Linked DNA regions of Homo sapiens: region 2 is linked to region 1. Evidence: promoter capture Hi-C in 16 types of primary human blood cells and fetal thymus (Javierre and others, 2016). All regions are on one chromosome and are shown on one strand. The core of a region is centred on a gene start or on the middle of the fragment in contact, and the rest is flanking DNA. Distances in the headings are between cores, read along the strand shown. Region 1 holds the start of BARX1 (BARX homeobox 1). Region 2 overlaps PHF2 (PHD finger protein 2).

What was found. Contacts are between HindIII fragments. The CHiCAGO score rates a contact against its expected background, and 5 or more counts as called.
Region 2: a contact is called between a fragment that was not itself captured here and the fragment with the promoter of BARX1 in region 1, in 1 of 17 cell types (M0 macrophages). The highest score is 5.6, in M0 macrophages.

The regions. Positions count from the first base shown.
Region 1 is chr9:93,953,691-93,957,275 of GRCh38, forward strand. It overlaps BARX1 (BARX homeobox 1), which reads right to left and starts at 1,665. Exons shown (of 4, transcript NM_021570.4): 1 at 1,234-1,665. The coding sequence starts at 1,456. BARX1-DT (BARX1 divergent transcript) reads left to right here and starts at 2,144. Exons shown (of 2, transcript NR_144455.1): 1 at 2,144-3,178. It overlaps LOC124902216 (a long non-coding RNA gene), which reads left to right and starts at 1,836. Exons shown (of 3, transcript XR_007061672.1): 1 at 1,836-1,950. RefSeq lists enhancers at 1-247, 1,659-2,190, 2,191-2,721. The HindIII fragment of the contact is 28,188 bases long and covers 1-3,585 here.
Region 2 is chr9:93,639,745-93,642,854 of GRCh38, forward strand. All of the region lies in intron 3 of PHF2 (PHD finger protein 2), which reads left to right. Among named protein-coding and RNA genes, the nearest start is that of MIR548AU, 46 kb to the left of the region's middle. The HindIII fragment of the contact is 1,468 bases long and covers 701-2,168 here.

The sequences.
Region 1 (3,585 bases), core at 415-2,914:
TTCCCGGAAATTCCAAAGTACCCTGAGAACCTGGAAATTATTGTTCACGTTTTCTATTTTCAGACGCTTCCCCATGCAGATGTTTCCATTTTCTTCAGTCCTAAAATGATTGTGTGCCCGCTTCAAACGAATTAGTAGCAACAGAGCAGATGGAGACGAAAGGTAGCCGAATGGCCGAGTCCCAGCTGGACTTAGAAGGAGCGCGCTGGCCCTGCCGTCTCCAGGCTAGGGAGCACCGACTAGGAGGTGGGGGGGTGCAGGGAAGGCGACTTGAAGGGCTGGGGTCCCGGCTACAGCGTAGGAGCCTCCCTTCCCCGACAGGCCTGTCACTGAGGTGCGAGTCCTAGCCTGGCTGGAGTCGGAAAGGGCAGGGCAAGGCGCAGGTAAATGTGGGGCAGAGGACCCGTAGGGAAAAGGTGGGAGATGGGAGGCAGGCCGACCCCAATGAGAGAAGCGAGGGAGGCCGACCGGCAGACGGTTGGAAAGCGAGATAGGGAAAGACAAGACGAGGGTGGAGTGCGATGGAGACAGCACCATCAGGGCAGAGCAGGCCCCGCCAAATTAGAAGAAAGGGCAGAAGCTGAAAAGGTCTGCGCAGGCCGTTCAAGCCCTGCAGAGGCCCAGCCGACCTGAAACCAGAAGGGACAGCCAGGCAGCTGCTCACAGTCAGGCCTCTGGCCCCAAGGCAAGGCCGAAGCAGGTCCGCACTGCGGCCAAGGCCGCGTTCCTCGCCCGCTGGAGCTCCCGGGGACTCCGGGCCGGCTTGGGCCCGCGTCAGCACCCAGCCCTCGGGAGCGCAGGCCTCCTCCCCAGAGGTCCGACTTCCCTGGGTTGGGCAGCCGCGGCCACTCCCGGCCATCCCTCTGCGGCGAAGCCCAGGCGCCCGTGGCCTGAGGTCGCTTCCACCCACGAGAGTCCGTAGCCTGGCAGTGCGCCTGCACTGGGGATGCTCACTCGGGGTCCCCGGGCTGGAGGCCGAAGGGAAGCAGTGAAGGAAAGAGCGAACACCCTCCCCGGGCGGCCCGCGGGCACGAGGCCTGGTTTCTGTGAGGCCTGGAGCTTGCACCCTCCGCCTCCCGCCTGGAGGGCTCCGAGAGACGGTCCCAGAACCTGCGCTCCCAGAGCAGCTTCCCGGGGCTGCTTCGATGCCGGAGGAGGCTCGGGGCGCCCCCGCGGTTCAGCTCGCTGTCTCCCGCCAAGCCCGGCCCGCGACCCCGCGGCCGCCACACGTACCCAGGTGGCTGTGGAAGGGCCGCGCCGCCAGCAGCGCCTGCACGCCGAACTTCAGCAGCTCGCCCGCCGCGGCAGCGGCGGCTGCGGGCGCGGCGCCCTTGGGCCCGGGTGGCTCCGTGAGGATCTCCTCAATCATGAAGCTGCGATAGCGGTGCGGCCGGTGGTCCGCGCAGCCCTCGGGCGGGCCGAAGCGCGCGGCGCCCGGCTCCCCCGGCCGCTGCATCGCGGCGCCCACTGCTGCGCCCGCGGTTTGGCGGCGGCGGCGGCGACGGCTTGGCTCCGGCGCGGGGCCCGCGCGGGGCTCTAGGCCGGCCCGCAGCTCGGGGCGGCGCGCGGGCGCCGGCTCATGCCCCCTCCCCCGCCGGCCGGCCGGGCGGAGGCGCAGGGCGCGGGCGGGGCGCGCGGGGCTCGGCCGGTCGAACCCGGGACTGCGCCCCCTCCCCACGCCGCCGCGCCTCTTGCCCGGCCAGCCCCGCGTCACCGCCCCGCCCCGCCCCGCCCCGCGCCGCCGCCCCCAACCCCTAGGCTGAGCCGGAGGGAGGGACCCAGAAGGGAGGGAGGCGGAAGGGAGGCCAAAAAGGAGGGGGCCACGTGAAAGAGGCCGGCCGACCGAGACCGAGGGAGACTGAGCGGAGCGCACGCCCTGGAAGGAGAGAGCCGGAGAGTTCGGGAGGCAAGACCCCCAGAGACGAGAGTCGGAGGGATCAAACGACACAGGTGAGAGAAGGGGCAGAGGCAGACGGCGTGGGCCAAACAAGATTCCAGACAGTGATGTGAGGGCACCAGAGACGCCACCGAGATGTGCGCAGAGAGACCAAAAGAGGCGTGAGAGCCAGCGGGCTGTGACGTGACGGAGGGCACAGAGGCAGGCGGGGCAGAGGAAGGGGGCGGTAAAGAAATGGGAACAGCTAGAAAACCGGCGGCTTGATCGGCTTTTAGGTAGCCCCGGAAAGGTCGGGAGGAGGAGGGGCAAAGGCCGCGCTCCTCAGCTGGGAAGGAGGTGGTCTCAAGCAGCCTCCAGTCCCGGGCTCAACACCGCCAACCCGGCAAGGGTGAGGCAGCGTTCAGGGATGCAAGGGGCAGAGCGGTAGCGGCACCTGTGCACCCCTCCCACCTCTGCCTCAGTTTACCATGTACGGCCTCATTTCTCTCCGGGCTGCCCTGAGAGAAAAATGTTCTCCAGCCGAGATTTGCTTGAATTGGAAATTCAAGTGATCCATGGACACATCCTCCTTGACAGCCCCCAGAAGACTGTAGGCTGGTTACATCCCCCTAGTTAGAAAAGGAAAAGGATTCGAGGAGAAGGGAAGGATGCAGCTTTGCCTTTTCCCAGCTTTGGGGCATCAAGAAACTGTTACTGGGCGGAGTTGGGGCCAGGGGGCCAGTGGGTGCTCTGAGAGTGTAAAGACCAAACTCTGGTGGGACCTGGCTCCATTGCGGAGCCTCAAAAGCTCCAACATGGTGGAGGAAGTTGGCAGTACCTTCTCTAGATCTTTCTTTCCATCCTTAGAAGAGTATAAGCCCAAGCCGTGGAGTGAACAACCCCAAAGCTACCCTACGCTGAACTCCTCTCTTTGGTCCTGCCACTACTGGTGAAACCACTGACCCTTTCTGGGCCTGTTTCCTTACCTGTCCTGAGGAGATGCTGACCTTTGGCTCCAGAGAGACTGTGAGAACTCAGTGAGGGGGTCCTGCACTCCGAGGGTCCTGCACCCTGGGAGCCCTTAGGTCTGTTTGGAGAGAAAACAGTTCCTCCAGGCAAGAGGGGAGAAGTGTCCCCAGGAGGTTGGGGGAGGAGCATCTGCCCTCCTCCTTCTCAGGAATCACAGGGCCTACCTCCTAGCCCCATCCACCATTGCCAGTCAGCGCCTGATGCACTGGGGGTGTCCTGGGCCACCCGGACTTCCTCTGTGAGCTCCATGTGGGGCCTCAGTCTTTACCTCAGGTAACTAGGGCTTACCACACCTACAGCCATGCCCCCCACCCAAGTTGAAGTCCTTTCTCCAGCTCCAGCTGCTGGTGGGGAGGCCTTCAGGCTGGCCCTCAGTCCCTGGCACCTGCCCCAGACTCGGGAGTGGGGGTGGGGGGCAGGTGGGGACTAGGAAGTGGCCCAGATCCTTTGTCTGTAGGGCCTGGAGTGAGGACAAAGACTACCTTACTCTGGTAAGATCCCAGTCCCAAGAGCCCACTGTCTCTCCTTCCCAGTTGTTGCATGACTTTCTGAACTCAGAGTTACCATTGGGACTGAAAGAAGGTGGCCTCAATGGCCGCCAGTTGCTTCGGACTCCCTCGGAGAGTGGTGCTGTGAGCCTACATGGTTCTTTGGAAAGGGTGGAGAGGGGCGCACTAAGA
Region 2 (3,110 bases), core at 185-2,684, 310 kb before region 1:
CTGCAGACGTAAACTCAGCAACAGGCAGCTGGGGCAGAATGAGAAGTGGAAGTCCTGCTCTCCCAAGAAGAAAGCTCTCTAGCTGGGAGCCGGTGGGGACGAAGCCTGTGTTTTTGGCTGCAGCACTTGGGAGTGGAGTGTCCACCTCTGAGCTCTGAATGTGAATGGAGGGAGCAGTCTTGGTCCAAATATCACAGACTGTTCTTACTGAGTTTTTGGAGATTTTCTTAAATAGATGTTTCTTCATTTGCTGTTTGGTCTTGGGACCATTTCCAGAGGCTCTGAATAATTGTTTTTTAAATAATTTTCAGCATTTCATTGTCATGCTGGAAGTTGACCTCGCTCATCTGCCTTCTTTCAAGATAGTTGCTTGGTCTTTGGTTTTTTTTGCAGTTCAAATATGATATGCCTAGGTGCAGAATTTTTGGCATTTATCCTCCTTTATGTGGTCTAAGCTTTTTGGATCTTTGGTTTCATGTCTGCCATTAATTTTAGAAAATTCTCAGCCATTATTAATTCAAATAAATATTTATTCTACTGCATTTTCTCTTCCTTTTTATATTCTCAATATGCACATTAGGCTGTTTGTAGTTCTTCTTCTACATTTCTTGGATATTCTGCGCCTCCCCTTGACCCCCACCCACATGCTTCTTTGTTCTGCTTGGATTTCAGGTTGGAAGTTTTTATTGATATAACTTCAAGCTTACTGGTTCTTTTCTTGGCCATGTCTAGTCTACTGATGAGCCCATCAAAGGCATCCTTCATTTTTGCTACTTTTATTATTGTTTTTTAATTTCTAGCCTTTCCTTTTGACTCTGTCTTAATTTCCATTTCTCTGTTTACATTACCCATATGTTCTTACATGTTGTCAGCTTTTCCCATTAGTGTAGCTAACATACTAATCCTAGTTATTTTAAATTTCCTGTCTGATAATTCGGAAATCTGTGCTATGTCTGAGTCTTCTTCGGATGCTTGCTTTGTCTCTTCAGACTACAGTTTTTCTTGCCATTTAGCAGGCTTAAAATTTCTTGTGAAAGCTGGACACGATGTATTGTGTAATAGGAATTGAGGTAATTAGGATTTAGTGTGAGGTTTTATGTTAATCTGAGTAGGACCTGGGCTGTGTTAAATTTGCTATAGCTCTAGGTGCCAGAGATGTCAGCTTCTTCTAGTTTGTTTGTTTGTTTTTCTCCTGGTTTCTTTGGGTTTTCCTAAGAATTTCATGTTAAACAGAGTCTGTGTCTGCAGCTCTCTCAGTTATAGTCAGCTATTATTATACTGATGTATGGTGGTAGGTTTTGGGGAGGGGAAGTGTTCTATAATTTCAGGATTAAATCTCAGTTTTGTAGAGTCTCTGGGCTGTGATCATTAGGAGCATTTCTCAGCCTTTTTAATTTTTCTCTCCTTATCTGAGACAGGAAGGTTAGTGGGGGCTGGAGGTCGCCAAATGCTTTCCCCATGTCCAGTAGAGTCTGATACAGGGGAGCAGACTTTTGTTATGGAGAACAACACTCTGGATGTATTTAAAAATAGATTCTATTTCCATCCTTCTGCCGGATTAAGGAGTTTTTAACTCTTAAACTGATCTACACTTAACTTTTGGCAGTTTGACAAAAGTTATCACTTAAGTGTTCCTACAGGTCACTGCCTCCAGCAGCTTCCGCTTCAGGTAAGGCGATCTCAGCTATGATTTTCTGTCTCCTCAGATTTTGGGTGGTTGGTTGTTTGCCCTATGAGCTCAATTCTCTGATGAATATAAGAAAAGTTGTTGATTTTCTGTTTGTTCAGCCTTTTTCTTGTGGGGAAGAGGGGAGTGACAACATCCAAACTCTTCACATGTTGGAGCTGAAACCAGAAGAACAATTCCACATTATTTTAGCCACCTTAAATTCATTGGGTTATCTGTTGTTTTATTTTTGAGTTGTAAGAATTCTTTACATATTCTAGATACTTGTCCTTACCAGACACTTTCTGCCATTCTGTGTTGTCTTTGTAGTTTCTTGACAGCGTCATTTGAAGCACAAAAGTTTTTAATTTTAGTGAAGTCTAACTTACCTCTTTTTTCCTTTTATTGCTTGTGCTTTTGGTATCACTGCTGATAAATCATTGCCTAATCCAAGATCTTGAAGATTTATGCCTTTGTTTTCTTCTGTGAGTTTCATAGTTTAAGCTTTTATATTTAGGTCTTTGACTCATTTTGATTGAATTTTTGTATACTATCTGAGGTAGGAAGAACTTTATTCTTTTGCATATGGATATCAACTTTTCCTAGCAACATTTATTGAAAAGACTGGCCTCTCCCCATTGAACTGTTTTGGCACTCTCCTTGAAAAGCAGTTGATTGTGGGTGTTAAGGATTTATTTCTGGGCACTTAAGTGTATTCCATTCCTCTGTATATCTTTTCTTATGACAGTACCACCGTCTTGACTGTAGGAGCTTCGTATTGAATTTTGAGGTTGGGAAGGGTCTTCCAGCATTGTTCTTTTAAAAGACTGTTTTGGTCATCTGAGTGCTTTGCATTTTTATTCAGCATTCCAAGTTTAGTTTGTCAATTTCTGCAAAGAAGTCAGCTGGGATTTTGATAGGGATTATGTGGAATCTGTAGATTAGTTTTCCATTGTTTCTTGAATCCCACACCTTTCTTCTAAGTTTGATTTCCTTCTTATAGAATTATATCTTTTAGTTATTTCAGCAAAGGCTTATGAAAATACATACTGTCTTGTCTGACAATGACTGTCTTTATTCTTACATGATTCTAATATTCTAAAATGGATCTAAAGTTCTAGAGTGAAAGCTGTTTTTCTTTAATTCTTTGAAAGGTATTTTATTGTCTTTTGACATCTCTTGCTAATGAGATATCTGTTGTTAGTCTAGTTGCTGTTTCTTTATATTGTTTGATGTACTCAGTACATGAGTGTACGATATTGCCTCTAGATGTACATTTGTTTTTGTTTATTCTGCTTAGAACCCAGTAAGCCTCTTTAATTTGGAGAGTCACATGTCAATTCTGAAAAATACTCTGTTTTCTCTTTTAGTAGCATTTCTTCTGTATTCTCTGTATCATTTAAAAATTTTTCTTCAAATTTACTATTTTTTCAGCCATCTACTG